Linked DNA regions of Homo sapiens: all the other regions are linked to region 1. Evidence: promoter capture Hi-C in 16 types of primary human blood cells and fetal thymus (Javierre and others, 2016). All regions are on one chromosome and are shown on one strand. Each heading gives the region's core, a stretch centred on a gene start or on the middle of the fragment in contact. The rest is flanking DNA. Distances are from core to core; before and after follow the strand shown. Region 1 holds the start of GBP7 (guanylate binding protein 7). Region 2 has its middle 24 kb from the start of GBP5. Region 3 overlaps GBP1 (guanylate binding protein 1). Region 4 overlaps GBP5 (guanylate binding protein 5).

The links. The method cuts DNA at HindIII sites, captures the fragments that hold promoters and counts their contacts. A CHiCAGO score of 5 or more calls a contact.
Region 2: a fragment that was not itself captured here is called in contact with the fragment with the promoter of GBP7 in region 1 in 1 of 17 cell types (activated CD4 T cells); the score reaches 5.2 in activated CD4 T cells.
Region 3: a contact is called between a fragment that was not itself captured here and the fragment with the promoter of GBP7 in region 1, in 1 of 17 cell types (activated CD4 T cells). The highest score is 5.2, in activated CD4 T cells.
Region 4: a fragment that was not itself captured here is called in contact with the fragment with the promoter of GBP7 in region 1 in 1 of 17 cell types (activated CD4 T cells); the score reaches 6.0 in activated CD4 T cells.

What each region holds. Positions count from the first base shown.
Region 1 is chr1:89,173,092-89,178,275 of GRCh38, reverse strand. It overlaps GBP7 (guanylate binding protein 7), which reads left to right and starts at 2,273. Exons shown (of 11, transcript NM_207398.3): 1 at 2,273-2,355. All of the region lies in intron 3 of LOC105378842 (a long non-coding RNA gene), which reads right to left. The HindIII fragment of the contact is 1,918 bases long and covers 1,902-3,819 here.
Region 2 is chr1:89,294,106-89,299,289 of GRCh38, reverse strand. It overlaps the pseudogene LOC100421401. Among named protein-coding and RNA genes, the nearest start is that of GBP5, 24 kb to the right of the region's middle. The HindIII fragment of the contact is 2,634 bases long and covers 693-3,326 here.
Region 3 is chr1:89,054,360-89,059,543 of GRCh38, reverse strand. It overlaps GBP1 (guanylate binding protein 1), which reads left to right. Exons shown (of 11, transcript NM_002053.3): 4 at 118-227; 5 at 501-703; 6 at 1,310-1,552; 7 at 2,410-2,690; 8 at 3,316-3,528; 9 at 4,329-4,431; 10 at 4,669-4,862. All of the region lies in intron 2 of LOC105378841 (a long non-coding RNA gene), which reads right to left. Among named protein-coding and RNA genes, the nearest start is that of GBP1, 8.3 kb to the left of the region's middle. RefSeq lists an enhancer at 2,202-3,401. The HindIII fragment of the contact is 1,315 bases long and covers 2,286-3,600 here.
Region 4 is chr1:89,253,310-89,258,493 of GRCh38, reverse strand. GBP5 (guanylate binding protein 5) reads left to right here. Exons shown (of 12, transcript NM_052942.5): 12 at 1-2,305. It also overlaps the pseudogene LOC100421401. Among named protein-coding and RNA genes, the nearest start is that of GBP5, 17 kb to the left of the region's middle. The HindIII fragment of the contact is 3,209 bases long and covers 663-3,871 here.

The DNA of each region.
Region 1 (5,184 bases), core at 1,024-3,523:
CGGCTCACTGCAACCTCTGCCTCCCAGGTTCAAGCGATTCTCCTGCTTCAGCTTCCCTAGTAGCTGGGAGTACAGGCATGTACCACCACACCTGGCTAATTTTTTTGTATTTTTGCAGAGTCGGGGTTTCACTGTGTTGACCAGGCTGGTCTCAAGCTCCTGACCTCAAGTGATCCACCCACCTCAGTCTCCCAAAGTGCTGGGATTACAGGTGTGAGCCACCTCGCCCAGCATTTACACTGCACTATTTTTAGCTGGTTTATATATAACATGTTTCCCTAGGATCAATGCCATCCTGTTTTCCCATTAGAGAATTGACAACACAATTTGCTGGTACATCCTCAAATTTGCTATACCTTCCTTGTATTCTTCATCCTATGCTCACCTTGGAAATGTGGTAGCCATTTGCTTATCTAAAAGAATATTAAAATTTATCTCCCTTGGAAGAAATGGCTATAGACAGGATAGGCACCGGGCTTAAGCTCCCAAAGTGTCAGGAAGCCTGGGTCTCTGTCTTTCTGGATATTTCCATTTCAAAAGGCATGGAGCCCAGACTCTTGAAGACATCTCTGGGTTGTAAAGCTGGCACTGATATTTAGCCCCTAGAAAGCTCTATTTGTATTCAAAAGGTTAAAGAAAGGACTCTGGCCCACTTGTCTCTAAAGAAACACTCTAAAAACAAGCTGGGGTCTGGCATGGTGGCTCACACCTGTAATTCCAACACCTTGGGAGGCTGAGGCGGGTGGATCACCTGAGATTGGGAGTTCGACATCAGCCTGACCAACATAGAGAAACTCCATCTCTACTAAAAATACAAAATTAGCCGGGCTTGGTGGCTCATGCCTGTAATCCTAGCTACTCAGGAGGCTGAGACAGGAGAATCGCTTGAACCCAGGAGGTGGAGGTTGCAGTGAGCGAAGATTGTACCATTGCACTCCAGCCTGGGCAACAAGAGAGAAACTCTGTCTCAAAAAAAAAAAACACAAGTTGGGAAAGTGGGATCTTTTTTTCTTATAAATTTATGTACCCTTAAATTATACATGATTCACAAAGATTCAATTTTGCCTGGGGCTATTTTTTGTTTGCATGATATAAACAATAGATTTTATTACTTAGAAGCAGGTGATTTCCTAGCAATAGTTCTGTTTTGAAATAACCCTGCCTTACTTTCACTTTAAATCTCATCAATATTCACACACACACAGAGAAGTCTTACTCTCTGCTCTCCATTTCTCTCTCTCTCTTCCCCGCTTCCCACCTTCCTCTCTTTTAGAGACAATGTGCAGTAGAGAATCAATGTGGTTTTAACCAAATGGATTTTCAAGTTTGAATCTCGCTCAATTACTTGCTACCTTGGTGTGTAGCTCAATGGCTTTAGTTAGACATATTAATTACCCGTTTTCTGATTATTTTTCCCCCTTGGACAATGGGGATAATAAACAACCTTTATCTTGAGGTATTTTGATATTTAAAATGGTATGTGTAAAGAATATGGCCTAGAATGGAACTGATAAGGAGAAAACATTGTTATTGTACACTCAGCAAACACAGAGGTATTTTAATGAAGTGACTGACAGCAAGACTTCTTGGGCCCAAATCTTATTTAGTAGCTCTGTAATTGTAATAAATTATTAAATCCCTCTTTTAACATTGTGGTAAAAGTATTTGTGATAAGAATACAATGGGATAATCTATGTAAACAAAACGGGTACTATCTTCATTATTATTTATTAAATGTTAAGTGCCAAGACCTGAGTTAGGTGCTAATAATTCAAACATGTATAAGACGTGGACATTCCTTCAGGGCATTTAGAGTCCTCATTATTAAACACAAATAATGAGTTCCATTTTAAGAGTCTAATATTCAAGCCAATTGAACCTAAATAATATTATATTAAGCTTTCTTATTCCTGTACTTCTCAATGTGGCCCACAAACATGAGATGAATGTCATTATTTTAAACGATTCATTGAAGTTTTTTTAATAATCGCAAGCTGTCTCTAAGATCTCTTCCAATAATAAAATTGGAAGATTCTGTTTGAGAAATTATGTCAAATCCTCTCACTAGCACAGCTGTCAGCAATTTCTTTTATTGTTGCTAAATCATGGACTGTCATATTACTCTATTTATTTGCAGAGGTTGCATTGTTTTTTACATGTATAAATACAGGTCTCTAGAAAGTCTGGAAAGCCCCATGACATTGGAGAGGTAAGGTAAAAGTCCAAAGTTCCAGCAAGAAAAAAAGTGGGAGAAATCAGTGCAGCCAAATTCAGAACTAAAGAGAAGAGAATAAAGACTCATAACTTTCTCATTGAAGCTGCCTTCTTACCAAGTCCAGAGGATCTCTACTCTGGGTAAGACTATGACTTATAAGGATTTCATGATTTATAAGGATCCATTAGTTTTCTCTAAGTTGACCATCCCCAAGATAGGCTGCAGCTGAGCCAGCTACAGGATACAAGTCCAGATGAAATCCTGGCCTCTTAGGTGGCTGTGTGTACCTTAGTGTGCTCTAATTCCTGCTGTGTCAGATTAGGCTTCAGCAGAGGTGGAACAGATATTCAGAGAAGCCAGTGTTCTAAGATTGTTATTTCTTTTCTGACACCATCTTAAATTACTGTTATCTTTAAATATCTGCCTAATAGGCTCTGTCACTTTCTTTATTGGGCCCAACATTTATAGCTCTAGGTAAATGAAGGTAGGCAACTTGGGATCTGCAAAAAGAGGCAACACATTATTATAATCCAGGACCTTATAACATCTTTGTGCCACCACCTTTCTGAGCCGGTGACTGATTGATTCCTATGTTATGGTAGCATAGTATATGCTACAGAATTGGACAGACGCATACTCTGTTTTCACTCATCTTCCATAGATACCCAATCTTTTTAGTTTCTGGTTTGCCCTTCTTGCTTGCCAGCAGATCCTGTAGGCCATTGCTATAAGAGGAAATGGGTCATGATCACAGAAAAATAAACGGCTTTTTTTCCATCTTCTGCTGAAGTGATGGGAAGCCAGATAATTTAATATAAACCTCCAGAGGAACAAGTCAGAAGTAACCAACTCTATAGTGGAAACAAACCACTCTTTATTATAGGATAAAAAAGAAAACTGCAGTATCTATCATCTATATTTGCTTGTATCTTAAAGAGATTATATATTTTGTATCATGATCACATAAGTTACAAGGATTGAGACATTCAACTTAAAAACACAAAATTAAAGCATCACTACAAGAAGGCTTTTCACTCCTTTTAACTTTACAAAATTATCAAAATATTTAATTTATCAAGCCCTGGATAAAGATAGCATGATTACAATTGTGCATATGCTACTCTCTATACAGCAGAGATCAGACAAAAAACAAGCCATGGTTTTTCAAAGAATGTTTCATGCTGTGACTTCATTACATGAAATAATTAAAAACAATATGCAGACTGATATACATGGAGGTAATAAAGAATCAATCTTCAAATGCAGAGAATTCAAAATCTGTTAACATAATCAAGTCAAAAATCAACAGAGTAAGTGTCAGGTGCGAGCTATCAGGCTTGCATGAATAACGTGTGAATGCTGATGCACAGTGAGAGGAGGAAGCCATTGGGTAACCTGAGTCCCACAGTCTGACCAGACCCTGCCCACAGAGGGGCTTGCAAGAAATCAGGACCAAGAATGGGTTAGAATGGTATCTATGTTTCAAAGTATAGAGATATGTATAACACAATGTTTCCCAGGTGAAGATTACTACTACTATATACATGAGCTCAGCGAGCTCAGCTTTGCTCAGTCCAAAGATCTAAATGTGAACGTGAAAAGCTTCCAAAGGAAATTTTGTAATTAATTCAGAAGAGCAAGCGGGGCACCTAGGAAAAATTCCATTTTCTAGAAAATGACATACAAGATGAGCTGGTGGGAATGCAACCTTGTACAACTTTCTGGAGAGGAACTTGGCAATATCTACAAAATTATATACTCTCATCTTTTGACCAAGCAATCCCGTTGGTAGGACTCTATCCTGAAATTACTCCTGTAACAATATAAAAATACACATGCATAACGTTAGCAGAGTTATTCATTGCAGCATTGTTTGTAATTGCAAAATATTTGAAACAATCTAAATGCCCATACATTGAAGAGTGATTGAATAAACTGGGGTATAATCCACATAAAGGAGTAGATACATGTTAAAAGGATTTTAAAAGCTTTCTATGAACAGATGTGGAGGGATTTCCAAATTTCTATATGATGTGATCTTCGTGTTAGAAAATGTGAAAAAGAAAATATGTACATTCTCATTTGAGAAAAGAAAATCCAAGAAGCGTAAACCAGAAACTAACAAGATTGGGTATCTATGGAGGATGGGTGGGAATGTGGTAGAAAGAATAGAAGACCACTGCAATGTGAGTGGAGTGGTAAGATGAAGGAAAAGTGACACTTCTCTGACTGTAACTTTTTGAAAAGCTCTGCATTTCAGAACCATGATGTTTCACAAACTCAAAAAATAAATCATACTTAAAATCAACCAAGATACCAAGATGTGAAGGAGGCCAAACTGAAACACAAACAGTAACAAATGTAACTAACTGTTTTACAAATGAATAATTTAACCATACTGAAGAAGGTGGAGAAGGAAAAAGCTAACCTAAGCAACTTTGGAATGCAATGTTTTGAGTGTGTATATAAGGCTAAAGACCAAAAGAACTGTACACTAATAATTTTCTATAGGAAGTAAATTTATTTTTCCACAGACTTATTATCAATTTTGAAACTACTATATGAATATACTAGGACTGAGCAAGGAAACAAATGTATTATGTGTTAGAAGACCAAAGTCTAGCTTACTTGGAGAAAATAGTTTAAAAAGGAAAGTCAAAAGCTTGAATAAGCTCAGATGTGTTGGATTGGAACTGGAAATATCAACAGAATCTCAAGCTTTATTATAGAAATGTACAGATAAAAATAAATATAGATGTGTCCTAGTATACATACATATATTTCTTAACTTTGCCCCTGAGTGGGTCTAGAAATAATGAACACACCTAGAGTGATATATTGGTGTCAAAGTACCATTATCCATTGAAAGAAACCAAAGATACTGGGAGAAATGTTAGATTCTAGGGATAAAGCAGGAAAAATACAGATATTTTTTCTAGAATACGTTGTGGAGCCAAAAAGGAAAGAAG
Region 2 (5,184 bases), core at 760-3,259, 120 kb before region 1:
AAGCAAATACTTGACTCTCAATATATTTAAATGGTTCTCTATATCTCTATTTTTATAGCAAGATTATGTAAACATAACATGAAGGCTACCATAATTTCCAAGAAGAGATGTTGGATATGATAAGTGCCCTCTTCACTAAGAATGTGAAATATGGATATGGATATATCTTAATTCAAACTAAATTTCGAATAATTCATAAGTGGAATTTTAACAGGACAAATAATCTAATTTACCCTGCCTACGTATTCACCTCTCTAGTCTAGTTTGTTTGTAATATGCTTCACCAGGAAATTGTTTTTCCAGGATATCTCAAGCATATTAACTAAAGAAAAAAATAATTAATTGTTTAAATACAGTGACCTGAGAAACACACAAGAGTGAATAGGAAGATAAAGGTGAATTTAGTAAGAAAAGATAGGACTTATGACGGTATTCACACTGTGTAGAGTTTGCTTGTGATTTTAGAACTGTAGTCCCAATATTTGAATCCCATTGATGTCCCAAATTTCCTGCCTCTTTCAGGGCTGGGGATTCTGGTAGTGACTTATGTGAATATCATCAACAGTGGAATGGTTTCATTATTTGGAAAATGCAGAAACACCTCTGACTCAGAGTGAGAACACACTGGCCCTACAGAGTGATGTTCTCACAGACAAGTCCTGCAGATGCCTTACCTGGCTCATTTCAAAGCTTTCATATAGCATCCTTCTAGTATGACAAGCATTTCATGATACTTTGTCTTAGTAGTTGGCTCTGTTACCTTAATTTTAGAATAATAGCTAGTGGCCACTTTATAGGCAATAAGATTACCTATCATTCATAGGAGATTCTTCTGAGTAAGGAATTTATAGAGAACTGTATTACTCTATTTTATCTCTTTCTCCTCCAAACTTGGAGATAAAATAGAGTAACACAGTTCTCTATAAATTCCAGATAATTTTTATCTGGAAATCTGTCTGACTTCTGAAGCAAATTCAGGACTGACCTTCTTATATCCTCCTTTAGTGAATACTTGAAAAGTCACCTTATGTGCTTGTAATTTTAGTTATTTTGAATTTGTCATGTTTTCTGTGGACTCTTTTCCATTCATAGCAACCCAAGTTTCTCTGGGAAGATTTTCTTACCAAGTCATTTTTTTTTTTTTTTGAGACAGAGTCTCACTCTGTCACCCAGGCTGGAGTGCAGTGGTGTGATCTCAGCTCACTGCAACCTCCACCCCCCGGGTTCAAGCAATTCTCCTGCCTCAGCCTACCAAGTAGCTGAGACTACAGGTGCCCACAACCACGCCCAGCTAATTTTTGTATTTTCAGTAGAGGTGGGGTTTCACCATGTTGACCAGGCTGGACTCGAACTCCTGACCTCAAATGATCCACCCACCTGAGTCTCCCAAAGTGCTGGGATTACAGGTGTGAGCCACTGCACCTGGCCTAGTCTTTCTTTATATTTATTTTGCTTTTAGTTATATCACTTGTCTTAGTCCATTCTGGCTGCTATAACAAAATACCTTAGACCAGGTAAATTGTAAACAGAAATTTGTTTCTTACAGTTCTAGAGGCTGGGCCATCCAAGACAGAGTGCTGGCAGATTTGGTGGCTGGTGAGAGCTGCTCTTGGCTTCAAAGATGGTGCCTTGTTGCTGTATCTGCACATGATGGAAGGAGAAGGGTCACTCCTTTCAACCTCTTTTATAAGTGCATTAATCCCATTCAAATCACTTTCTAAAAGCCCTGCCTCTTAATACTATCACATTGAATATTTGGTCCTAACATATAAATTTTAGGGGACACTAACCTTCGGACCATAACACCACTGTTATTTATCCTGTAGGTGGATTCCCAGGATGTTCCAGCAGCAAGATACCATAGAGATTATGTGCTGTAAAATCAACATTACACAGGGAGGCCCAAGGAAGTAAGAAACATATCAATAGTCTTATAGAGAGCACTTTTCCAAGTTGGGAGTGATTCGAATTTATTTTTGTTAGATTTTGCTTTATTTTAATGACTTGGTTGAAATCTAATTTACACACTATATATTTTACCTATTTAAAGTGCACATTCAATTCTTGAAGGGAAGGCAGGCTAGGAAAACTTCCTGAAAGAGGAGTGTGATGTAAATTTTGAAGAATGTGTTCATGCTCTCCAAGTTTAGATGCTTTTTCTTTCCCAGGGTTTGTGCTGCTACTTTGAATTATTCCAGATTATCTCATGGAGCCATATTAAATGGGATTCCCAGGTTTACCATGTAGATATTGTAACTAGGGTTAAATATAAGCAGCAATTGGTTATTTTAAGGTTATCTTTGTGTGGTAGTATGTTTCCTAAAAACGGGAACCCTACCACCATACGGAGATCCTGACCTAGATTTAGCAGATATGCACACTCAGAAATGCAGGGAACTGACAGCTAATCTAGCTGCAGATGTTTTTCTGCCTCTTTAACTTCTAAAGAGAAGACCCATAGGCAGAAAAAAACATGTGAAAATATGAAAGCACCAGAAGTTATGCATTTATAAAGGTACGCATTTTTCTAAGTGGTGGAACCTAGCATTGATGGGGAGAAGCAACATTGGCAGGGGAGGTTGGAGGGGGAGCAATACAAGCAAGATCTTGAAAACTTGTGTGGGCAGGCAAAGAATAAGGAAACATTAATTGGAACAGAATTTCTCCTCAGAGTATTTCATTGGAAGTTTAAGTTTGACCTGCGTGATGTGTCTTGGCCTTTTCTTGGTTCCTCAAAATAATTGAGCTCTCCAGCGCTTGCTGTGGTTGTAGCAGATGTGGATAGAATCCAACCTGTGGAAATCCAAGGCCTTGCAAGGTACAGGGGCAGGTCTCAGCTTCCATCAGGGTGGGTAGTTTCCTGCAGGGCTGTTTGAGAGATCTGATGGGAGGATTTTCTGAAACAAGGAGCTTCCTAAATGTGAAAATAACAACAGAGTTGTGGTAGAGCGTCAGCCAGACAGCTGTGTCTTGCCCATCACATTCTGAAGTTTGCTCTTATTGTATGGCCACTGGATGAATTCAAATATTTCCCATCTGCCTTTTCAACAGCAGTTTGATATCTGAGAAGGGATGTATGGCACTCACGTCTGACTGTTCTTTTTCTTCCCTCTCAAAAACCTTCACGGATCAGCAAAGCGAGCCAAAAAAAAAAAAAAAAAATCACCTGAAAAGGAAAAAAATGCTTCTCAAGCAAAGGTGTAAAGAACAGCAGCAAAACTTGGAGGCTCAAGAGAGGAGCTTTGTGGAAATCAAAGCCCAACTGAGAAAGGAGTGAAAGAAAAGGAAAACCTACTGAGAGAGCAGGATCAGAAGACTCTGAAGCTTGAGATGAGTCTGGCCTGGATCTAGGCAGTGCTTTCTGGGCAATGCCATGGTACTTCAGGATAGGATGGGTGAAAATTAAAGCAAAGGCATAGAGAGGACATCGTTGTCATGTATTATATTCAAACCTAAATAACTGTTTTTTTTTTAATGGTTTATTCATGGCCTCTAAGTTCTGTTCACAGTGTGTCTTTGGAGAGTTCTGTTAAGATTCTGGTAACTCAAGCATTTATAAAATACTGTTATTTTATAAAGTTATTTATAAAATACTGTTATTTTATAAAGTTATTTATAAAATACTGTTATTTTATAAAGTTATTTATAAAATACTGTTATTTTATAAAGTTATTTATAAAATATAAATAACTTTCCCAGGGTTTGTGCTGTTTTGAATTACTCCAGATGATCTCATGGAGCCAATATTAAATGGGGTTCCCAGGTTTACCAGGTGGATATTCTAACTAGGGTTATCTAATATAAGCAGCAATTGGTTATCTTTGCCAAGGTTATCTTTTTGTGGTAGTGTGTTTCCTAAAACCGGAAACCCTCCTACCACACAAAGATCCTAAGATAGGCCCACACTGACCTAAAATTAGCAGATATGCACACTCAGAAATGCAGGGAACTGACAGCTAATCTAGTGGCAGTTGTCTCCAGGTGAAGATAGCCTGCCTGAACAAGCACACAGCATAGAGAGAATTCTCTTTTTTCTTATCTGGAAGTGTTGATAGCTTCCTCTCACTTTCCCAGTCAAACCAGGATATATTCCTGCTGCAAACATCCTCTCATGATGAAAACACTTTTAAAAGAAAAATATAGACAGTGTTACAAGCTGTTAATATAAAGTCATATTTTTGAAAAAATGAAGATGTTAAGAAGTTTACCATTTACTTTCCTATTGCTGTATTTTTATAACCAAGTTGAATAACTAAGAAAAGCGAGTGACGATGTGCAAAACACTTAAAACAATTGTACTTCAAAGTCAAAGGAAAAAATTTGTGAAAAACAACCACAATGGCTTGCAATGTCTTAATTTTACCCTCTGTTGATATTATAAAATGTATGTTGTTACTATTTGAATTTATTTCCTTTGAATAATAATTTAAAGCAATTTAAAACATTTTTGATACAGCTTTTTTGTTCTGACTTATTTTTATGTCTGTATGCATTTTTCTGTCCTTCACCAAAATTTTAATATGAAAATAGAAAAAGCATCTAATATGGGATATCAATACCTGGCAAACAAAAGATAGAATAAATGTTGGCTGGATTCATTAATTTAAAGTGAAATGTAAACAGTTGTTTAGAATACAGAGGAGAAGAAAAAAACAAATTTGCATTAATCTGAAAAACATTAAAATAAGCTTATAGGATACCCTTCTGAAAGTTATAGAAGAATAATTTTACAAATGAGAGTAAATAAGTAGCTGCTTTGCTAGAGAGGGGGCTGAATGGCCTGTATGGGATGCTCCCTCCTTTCCCTTAGCTAAATGTGGTCCTCAGTTTGAAGATGTTTCAGCTGATGATATGGCTTAATTAATGGATGGTTCCATGAAACTCAAAGCTGCTGGAGTCCACTGGGCCACTGTGGCCATATGCCCCAAGGATGGCCATGTTTTGACAGACCAGAAAAGGATGCATGGCCTGATGGGCCAAGCTCTACATGGTAATAATACTTGTGTAGGTATTCCAACAGCAACTCCCTCCTACTTATTTACGTATGGTCCAGTGACTGGCAGATTAATGATTGGACCATTAAGAGCTTCTCTGCAGAAACCAGGAATGTAGAAGCAGCTTATGGACTGGAAAAGACACCTATTCATCACTTGTGTTGACACCTATGGCAGAGGACCATTCAAA
Region 3 (5,184 bases), core at 1,694-4,193, 120 kb after region 1:
AAAAAAAGAAAAGAAAAAAAAACCCTCTAACATATGAACATAGTTTTACTACTGTTACTCTGAAAAGTGCTGCGATGATGAAACTTGCTCCTGACTCCAGTGTGTCTTGACTTCCAGGGTGACAACCAGAATGACTCCTGGATCTTCGCCCTGGCCGTCCTCCTGAGCAGCACCTTCGTGTACAATAGCATAGGAACCATCAACCAGCAGGCTATGGACCAACTGTAGTATCCTTTTGTGACCCAGAACAGCACCAAGGTCAGAGGGGACACCTGTATTCATACACCAGCTGCCTGACTGTGAATCCTGATGAATCAAGCTCAAAAGGAGAAAACAAAAAATAATGCAAGTACAGAGGAGAGATCCCATGTATCCACTTTAGAACTGACACTGACACTTAGGTTAGGAGCAAAGGAAAATGGAAGGTTTGGGTATGTGTTGAACTAACATGGGATGAGGTCCCTGTTCATTTTGTCACATTTCCTTAGTTAGCTACTCAGCTATGTGACAGAGCTGACACATAGAATCCGATCAAAATCCTCACCTGATGAGAATGAGAATGAGGTTGAGGATTCAGCTGACTTTGTGAGCTTCTTCCCAGACTTTGTGTGGACACTGAGAGATTTCTCCCTGGACTTGGAAGCAGATGGACAACCCCTCACACCAGATGAGTACCTGACATACTCCCTGAAGCTGAAGAAAGGTAACAGAGAGCTTCAACTGATAAATGAGGATGAGAAAACACAAGAAATTATCATTTTTCAGTTTACTATTGCTAGTTTTCCAGCATTTGCAGTTTTCTATGTCTTCAGCTGGCTATTCCTAGAAATTAATACTTGCTGAATATCCAAATTAATAGATGTTATTTTAAATTACATTTGTCATTGTTCTAGAACAAGTTTCTTGTTCTTTCACCTTTGTGTATGCTGTGATTAGGTTAATTTTATCTCCCTGCCTAGGGTTTGTGATCTTCTACTTAGCCATAGAGTATGGAGTACAATGGATATTTATTTAAAGAACATAGACTAAAACATGAACCGTGTGCTAGTCCAAGCATTGGCAAACTACAGCCCAAGACAAATCATGGCAAATCCTGCCTGCCAGCTGTCTTTGTAAATAAGGTTTTTTTGGAATAATGCTATGCCCATTCATTTACATATTGTCTAAAGCTGTTGTCATGCTTCAATAACAGAGTTGAATACTTGGAAAAGAGACCATCCAGCCTGAAGAGCCTAAAATATTTACTATTTGGCCCTTTACAGAAACACTTATATTAGGCAATTTTATAATTTTTTAAATGTTTTTCTAGGTACCAGTCAAAAAGATGAAACTTTTAACCTGCCCAGACTCTGTATCCGGAAATTCTTCCCAAAGAAAAAATGCTTTGTCTTTGATCGGCCCGTTCACCGCAGGAAGCTTGCCCAGCTCGAGAAACTACAAGATGAAGAGCTGGACCCCGAATTTGTGCAACAAGTAGCAGACTTCTGTTCCTACATCTTTAGTAATTCCAAAACTAAAACTCTTTCAGGAGGCATCCAGGTCAACGGGCCTCGTAAGTCCCCTTCCTAGTACTTCTGCTCATTGTTTAAGACTAGAGGAGCATAGAATAACTTCCACCTAGTTTCAGCATTGAAAAATCCCAATCTACTGCTATATTTGTGTTAAATTCTAGATGGCACCAATGTTTCTAACATATATTGTTAGTCACATTTCCAGTCTAGGAAAAGGCCAAAGGAAAAAAGTTCTATTGCTTGAAATTGCCCTAGTGAACTGGACCTGCACTATGCAATAGAGTAGCCCCTAGACAAGTGTGTCTATGTAAACATAAATGTAAATAATTTAAATAGGGAAAATTTAAAAGTCAATTCACATGCCTGTATTTCAAGGACTAATATTTACACGTACTTAGTGACTAGCACACTGAAAAGCACATATACAACATTCCCAGCATTACAGAAAGCGCTTTTGAACAATACTGCAATAAAATAAACTAAATGGATGACTCTTTTTTATTGGAATAGTGTCATTTGTTTCATACATATTGATCAAATGCTTACTATGAATAGACTGAAGATACAGATATAAATGAAATAGATATGGTTCCTGTCCTAATGTTGGTTGGGGTTAAAATGGATGCAAACATTCAATTAACACAAGTCTATGTAATCTAGTACAAGAACTCTCAAATGTTGGTATGCATACATATCTTCTGAGGATCTTACCAAACACAAAAGTCTAATTCAATAGATCTCGGACAGGGTCTGAGAGTCTATTTCCAGCAAGCTTCCAAGTGATGCTGAGGACATTGATGCTGTGAGGAAAATAGGTGGTATTTGACATGCTCAGAATTACATGGAATAGAGACTTTCTTTACCACCAGAAACATTATCATTTGTTCTTCATATGCAGGTCTAGAGAGCCTGGTGCTGACCTACGTCAATGCCATCAGCAGTGGGGATCTGCCGTGCATGGAGAACGCAGTCCTGGCCTTGGCCCAGATAGAGAACTCAGCTGCAGTGCAAAAGGCTATTGCCCACTATGAACAGCAGATGGGCCAGAAGGTGCAGCTGCCCACAGAAACCCTCCAGGAGCTGCTGGACCTGCACAGGGACAGTGAGAGAGAGGCCATTGAAGTCTTCATCAGGAGTTCCTTCAAAGATGTGGACCATCTATTTCAAAAGGAGTTAGCGGTAATTTTTGTCTCAAATGTATACGGTTTAGGGTCATAGAAGCTAAAGTACCACAAGGAAAGAAAACTATTATTTATTTTGACGGAAGTAATTCCTCCTAGCTTCCATAATGGTGAAAACAACAGATTTGTGATCACATCAGTCAGAAGGACCAACTGTATTATTACAGACCCAAAGTTCTAAAACATTTTTTCCTGAATAATTTTCCCTTTACTTATGCATACAACTGACAACCAGAGCTTCTAATAAAATTACCTGCCCACTCTTCTCAGACTGATTTGATATTCTAGCCAAACACAAAGAAAATTTTCATCCTACTTATCTTGAGCAGGCTTCCGTTCAGCCACATTTATTCCATATGAAATCATTAGTCCAATATGCAAAAACAGAGTTTTCCTCTAACAGTTGACATAAAGCTATCAATCTCAGCCCTGAACCTCACCTCCAAAAAGAAAGCGACTTCAGCAGAAAGTGGGGTCAGAAGGAAGAGTGTGGTCCTGGTGAGGAGGCTGTCAGTTTCTCCAGCATCATTGACTTCTATTTTCAGAAATCGTTCCCAAAATTCTGAGGTCAAGCTAACATCCTTTCCCTGTTACTCTTTTTACTTCCTATTTTTACATTAAAGGCCCAGCTAGAAAAAAAGCGGGATGACTTTTGTAAACAGAATCAGGAAGCATCATCAGATCGTTGCTCAGCTTTACTTCAGGTCATTTTCAGTCCTCTAGAAGAAGAAGTGAAGGCGGGAATTTATTCGAAACCAGGGGGCTATCGTCTCTTTGTTCAGAAGCTACAAGACCTGAAGAAAAAGTACTATGAGGAACCGAGGAAGGGGATACAGGTAACCAAGATTTATCTGTCAATTATGGAAAGCTGCTGACCTGCCTCCTACAAACACCAAGGTGACCAAGCTTCACTGCATACAGATGTGCTTTTTTGTTTGCATAACATTCATGCTTTTATTCAATAACATATGCAAACAGGCTGTTATACCAGATATGTCCTAGGTGCTCATCAAAGAGAGTGCAGTCAATTAACTATTAAGTTATAAATTCAATTAGCAGATGAAGCACAAAGTTATTATTGTCATCATTACAGCTGGGCTTTTCCTGTTGCAAGAGACAGGAACCCAATGATGGCTGCTTAAACAAAAATGTAATTCATTGATTTAGGCTGCAAACTGGCTTTACAGGTCAGGTGGGTCTAAGGTTTCAAGTAACATCATGAACTGGCTCTCTGTCCAGTGTTCCCCCATCCCCACAGTTTTCTCCCTCCCACCATCCCTCTATCTGAGTCACTCTGATATTTGCTTTCTCAATGATGGCTTCATTCCCCAGCAGGCTCAGCCCATATGGGACCACAGCATTAACAGTTCCAAACTTAGAGCCCTTAATCTAAACAGGACAGAGACTCTCCTTTTCCCAGTATCTATATTAGCCTACTAAAAATGACTGCTAAGTAGGATGTTCTGATCGGCTTGCCAGGAGCATGTGTCTGTCGCTCCGACAGGGAATTTGACCACCAAGGACAATAGGGCCAAGAGAAAGAATTCCCAGAGGAGAAAGGATGGCAGGAAGACAAACAGGAACACCTGCTTACAGCCATTTCCTACTTCTCACTCTGTGTTCTCTGGGTCCTAAGGCTGAAGAGATTCTGCAGACATACTTGAAATCCAAGGAGTCTATGACTGATGCAATTCTCCAGACAGACCAGACTCTCACAGAAAAAGAAAAGGAGATTGAAGGTGAGGAGTGAGTTAAGAGATTAGATGGCCTCAAAAGCTCCAAAAATTGAAATAACTTGACTGGATAAACATGGGACCCTTTAACTAGAGCAAGATCCACAAAGGTGTGTCTTACTTGCCGAGGTCATCTCTGAGTAGGGCATATGCAGTCAGCAACAACGACAGGTAAGTGTATAAGGAAGAATGAGGCAACAAGATAACCCCACACAAATTTTTCTTCTGCCTTTTCCTCCTCAGTGGAACGTGTGAAAGCTGAGTCTGCACAGGCTTCAGCAAAAATGTTGCAGGAAATGCAAAGAAAGAATGAGCAGATGATGGAACAGAAGGAGAGGAGTTATCAGGAACACTTGAAACAACTGACTGAGAAGATGGAGAACGACAGGGTCCAGTTGCTGAAAGAGCAAGAGAGGACCCTCGCTCTTAAACTTCAGGTATCTAATTGCATCACCTTGAGGTTTCTGTTTTTCTGTTTTCTCTCCATTCTCCCTGATCGCAAACTTAGTGTGGCAGAGAGAACATGAAGCCCAGGGTAAGGACCCTGCTTGCTTACTTGTACTTTTCAATTCCTGTCTGTCCAGCCTGACTGGCTACTGCCAAGTCTGGTCACTGAAAGTTTTTTATTTGCAGTTGTGTAACATTCAGTCCTTTATCAATATATCCTTCATTTCAAGGAAGCTATTATCTGCTAGGCATCATTAAAATATCTGTATCTCGGTGGGGCATTGTGGCTCACGCCTGTAATCCCAGCACTCT
Region 4 (5,184 bases), core at 1,018-3,517, 80 kb before region 1:
TCAACTGAGCATTTGTCTAGCAATACCCTACAATTACCTTTTCAAGCTGTGCAATTTATAAAGAAAAAAATACATTTTATCATCCAAGGAAATGTTATCAGTAAAAAGAATAGCTCTATCTCCAAATTAAATATTGATATCTTTATTACCCATCTTAAAGAAATTTTTTAAAATCCTGAGACTCAGAAAATTAAGTCATTTAAGGTTTCACACCTTGTTACTGTTAACCTAGACCATGTTACAAAGTAGTTGATTTCTAGTCTAATTTAACTTTTGCTATTATATCTCCCCCACCAAAAACCAGAGAGGCATGCTGCTTTCATTAGTGATCCACAGATATTCTTCCCCACCAGCTTCCCTGGATCCCACTCATCCCCAAATACTCTGATCTCACAGGTTAGAGATCTGTCACTGGGTGCAAAAGAACAAGAAAAGGCACTGTAAGGTAAACATTGATGATTTCTTGAAACTACCAGTAAGTAGCTTATATTTTCTGACTTTCTTTGTCTTACTGTTGTGAAATCAACTGATCTAGTTTTAAATGTAATGAAAAGCAAAGCAATAGATTCTCCCCTAGAGCCTGCAGATGGAATGCAGCCTTGTTAACATCTTGATTTAAGCTTCACAGACTTCTGATTTCCAAAACTGTAAGATAATAAGCTTCTGTTGTTTTAAGCCACAAAATTAGTAATAATTTGTTATAGCAGCAATAGGAAACAAGTACAAAATCTTTATTAGTTAATACTATGAATAGTTATTCATACCAGCTAAGAGATATTTGGAATTTATTATGGATCACTTTATTATGGTCACTGTAGTAATTCACCTGTTGCTCATAAAAACCTTATAAACATTTAGTATTGTTTTATGGCAATTGTTATTTTAAACAATATTATCAATGTATGTTAGTGTTATCATTATTAAAGTTATTATTGTTAAAGCATTGAAATTAAATAAATTAAGGTCAGTACCACAGAAGGCCTTTTGAATTTAGAACCCACATTAATAACCATCTTGTGGTACTTTCTTATCTTGCTTAGTGATACGGTTTGGCTGTGTCCACTCAAATCTCATCTTGAATTATGGCTCCCATAATGCCCACGTGTTGTGGGAGGGACCAGGTGGGAGGTAATCAAATCATGGGGGTGGGTTTTCATGTGCTTTTTTCATGATAGTGAATAAGTCGCCTGAGATCTGATGGCTTCATAAAGGGCAATTCCCCTGCACATGCTCTCTTGCCTGACACCATGTAAGATGTGCCTTTGTTCCTCTTTCATCTTCTGCTGTGGTTGTGAGGCCTCCCCACCCATGTGAAACTACAAGTCCATTACATCTCTTTTCCTTTATAAATTACCCAGTCTTGAGTATTTCTTCATAGCAGTATGAAAATGGACTAATATACTTAGGAAAACATAGAAATACTGAATAATGTGTTAAAATTTAGAAGGAATTACTAAAATAATTGAAATCAAAAGCATAGATTCAAAACAATGTATAAGAATTCAGCACAAAATAAGCAGGTAAAGAAATTTCTAAAATGAAGTAGAGAAAATGTGGTAATGACTCTAGTGTATAACGATCACCAACAGAATAGAAAGTCCAAAAAATAGACTTTATAGGAATAATACAGGGTAAAGATAGACTTCTTAGTAGGTTGGGACTACTGGATGGCCATATAGGAAAAGATCAAGTTGTAACCAGACCTCACACACAATACACTAAAATAAGAAAAAGGAACCACACCCAAATTGATAAAATATAAAATGTAAAACTATGAAAATGCATTTGAAGAAATCAAGGTTATGTTCTTCATAAACCTGTAGAGGAGAGGGCCTTTCTAAATGTGACTCAAAACTCTTGAAATCTCTCTTGACCCCATGTCTCAGTCAGTTTCAACACAATCTTTGTTCCCTTTCAAAGCAATATTTTAGTTAGTTACATCCCATTCTCTGTTTTTCAAAATTATTAAATGTGACACATACTGAAGAGTACAAAAAACATAAAATGTACAATATTCAATATAAATAAATTACAAGATGAACGCACAAGTAACAACCCAGGTACATACATTCAGCATTACTAAAATTCTATAGGTGTATATGACAACTTCTGACAACCCTGCTAGAGCCAACTAATATCACAACTTTCACAACTATTTTCTAGGATTTTATTATAAACATGTGAGCTCCTAAGTAATGTAATTTTGTTTGGCCTGTTTTCAAACTTTATTTAAATGGAATTACATTGTTTGTATTCTTTTATGCCTTGCTTCATTTGTTAATAAAATCTTTATAAGATTCATCTAGTTCATTGTGTGTAGTTGTAAGCTATATATATTCTACTGTTTAAAGATAACAATTCATTCTACTATTAATACATATCTGGATTTTCAGGTTTACCTTATGAAATGTTATTAAGGACATTCTTTTTTTTTTCTGTTTTTTTTTTTTTATGAGACAGAGTCTCACTCTATCACCCAGGCTGGAGTGAAGTGGCATGATCTCGGCTCAAGGCAACTTCTGCCTCCCAGGTTCAAGCAATTCTCATGCCTCAGCCTCCCAACTAGCTGGGACTACAGGCACACACCACTATGCCTGGCTAATTTTTGCATTTTTAGTAGAGATAGCGTCTCACCATGTTGTACAGGCAGGTCTTGAACTCCTGGCCTCAGGTGATCCACCCACCTCGGCTCCCCAAAGTGCTGGGATTACAGGTATGAGCCACCGCGCCCGATCGGAACATTCTCGAACATATACACTTGTGCATGTATATATAAAATTCCCTCTGTAACACTGAAGTCTTAGAGAATGGATATCCAGCTTTTCTTATTTATTAAATTTTTATTATTTTTAATTTTTGTGGGTACATAGTAGGAGTATATGTTTACGGGGTACATGAGATGCCTTGATACAGACATGCAGTGCATAATGATCAGATGGAGAAGGGGTATCTATCTACTCAAGCATTTACTCTTTGTATTACAAACAATCCAATTATACACTTTCAGTAATTTTAAGAAGTACAATTAAATTATTATTGACTATAATCTTCCCTTTGTGCTATTAAATATTAGGTCTCATTCATTCTTTCTAACTATATTTTTTGTACTCGTTAAACATCCTCACCTCACCCCTATCACCCTGCCCCACTACACTTCCCAGACTCTGGTAGAGATCCTCTACTCTCTACAGTTATGAATTCAATTGGTTTGATTTTTAGATCCTGCAAATAAGTGAGAACATGCAATGTTTGTTTTAATATGCTTGGCTTATTTCACTTAACATAATGATCTCCAGTTCCATCCAAGTTGTTGCGGATGACAGGATCTCATTATTTTTATGGCTGAATAGAACTCCATTGTGTAAAAGTACCACATTTTCTTTATGCATTCATGTGTCGATGGATACTTGGCTTGCTTCCAAATCTTGGCTATTGTGAAAAGCAATGCAACAAACATGGGAGTGGGAATATCTCTTCGGTATATTGATTTCTTTCTTTTGGGTATATACCCAGCAGTGGGATTGCTGGATCATATAGTAGCTTAATTTTTAAGTTTTCTGAGAACCCCAAAGTGTTCTCCTTAGTGGTTGTACGAATTTACAATCCCACCAACAATGTACAAGGACTTCCTTTCCTGCACATCCTTGCCAGCATTTGTTACTGACTGTTTTTTGGACATAAGCCATTTTAACTGGAGTGAGATGATGTCATTGTAGTTTTGATTTGCATTTCTCTGATGATCCATGATGTTGAGCACCTTTTCATATGACTGTTTTCCATTCATATGTCTTTTTTGAGAAATGTCTATTCAAATCTTTTGCCCATTTTTTGATTGGATAATTAGATTTTTTCCTATAGAGTTGTTTAAGCTTCTTATATTTTCTAGTTATTAATCCTTTGTCAGATGGGTAGTTTGCAAGTATCTTCTTGCATTCTCTATGTTGTGTCTTCACTTCGTTTATGGATTCCTTTGCTGTGCAGAACCTTTTTAACTTGACATGATCCCATTTACCCATTTTTGCTTTTGTTCCCTGTGCTTGAGGGGTATTACCCAAACAATTTTTGCCCAGACCAATGTCCTGGAGAGTTTCCCCAATGTTTCTTGTAGTAGTTTTATAGTTTGAAGTCTTAGATGTAAGTATTTAATCCACTTCGATTTGATTTTTGTATATGTCAAGAGATAGGGGCCTAGTTTCATTCTTTTGCATATGGATATCCAGTTTTCCCAGCATAAATTATTGAAGAGATTGTCTTTTCTTTGGTGTATGTCCTTGACATCTTTGTTGAATATGAGTTTACTAAAGGTGTGTGGATTTCTTTCTGGGTTCTCTATTCTGTTCCACTGGTCTATGTGTCTATTTTTGTTTTTGTTTTGTTTTGTTTTGTTTTTCAGACGAGTCTCTCTCTGTCGCCCAGGCTGGAGTGCAGTGGCGCGAACTCAGCTCACTGCAAGCTCCGCCTCCCGGGTTCACGCCATTCTTCTGCCTCAGCCTCCCCAGTAGCTGGGACTACAGGCGCCCGCCAACATGCCAGGCTAATTTTTATTTTTTATTTTTTTAGTAGAGACGGTTTTTCACCGTGTTAGCCAGGATGGTCTCTATCTCCTGACCTCATGATCCGCCCGCCTTGGCCTCCCAAAGTGCTGGGATTACAGGCGTCGGCCACCGCGCCCGGCCTATGTGTCTGTTTTTATGCCACTACCATGCTGTTTTGGTTGCTATTGATCTGTAATTTGAAGTTAGGTAATGTGATTCCTCCAGTTTTGTTCTTTTTGCTCAGGATAGCTGTGGCTATTCTGGGTCTTTCGTGGTTTCAAATAAATTTTGGGATAGCTTTATTTTTTTCTATTTCTGTGAAGAATGTCATTAGTATTTTGATGGAGATTGCATTGAATCTGTAGATTGCTCTGGGCAGTATGAACATTTTAACAATATTGATTCTTCCAATCCATGAAGATGGAATATCTTTCCATATTTTTCTGTCCTCTTCAATTTCCTTCATCAGTGTCTTATAATTTTCATTATAGAGATCTTTCACTTTTTTAGTTAATTCTTGAGTATTTAATTTTATTTGTGGCTGTTGGAAATGGGATTACTTTTATTTTTCACATTGTTCACTGTAGGCATACAGAAATGTTACTGATGTTTGTATGTTGATTTTATATCCTACAACTTTACTAAGTTG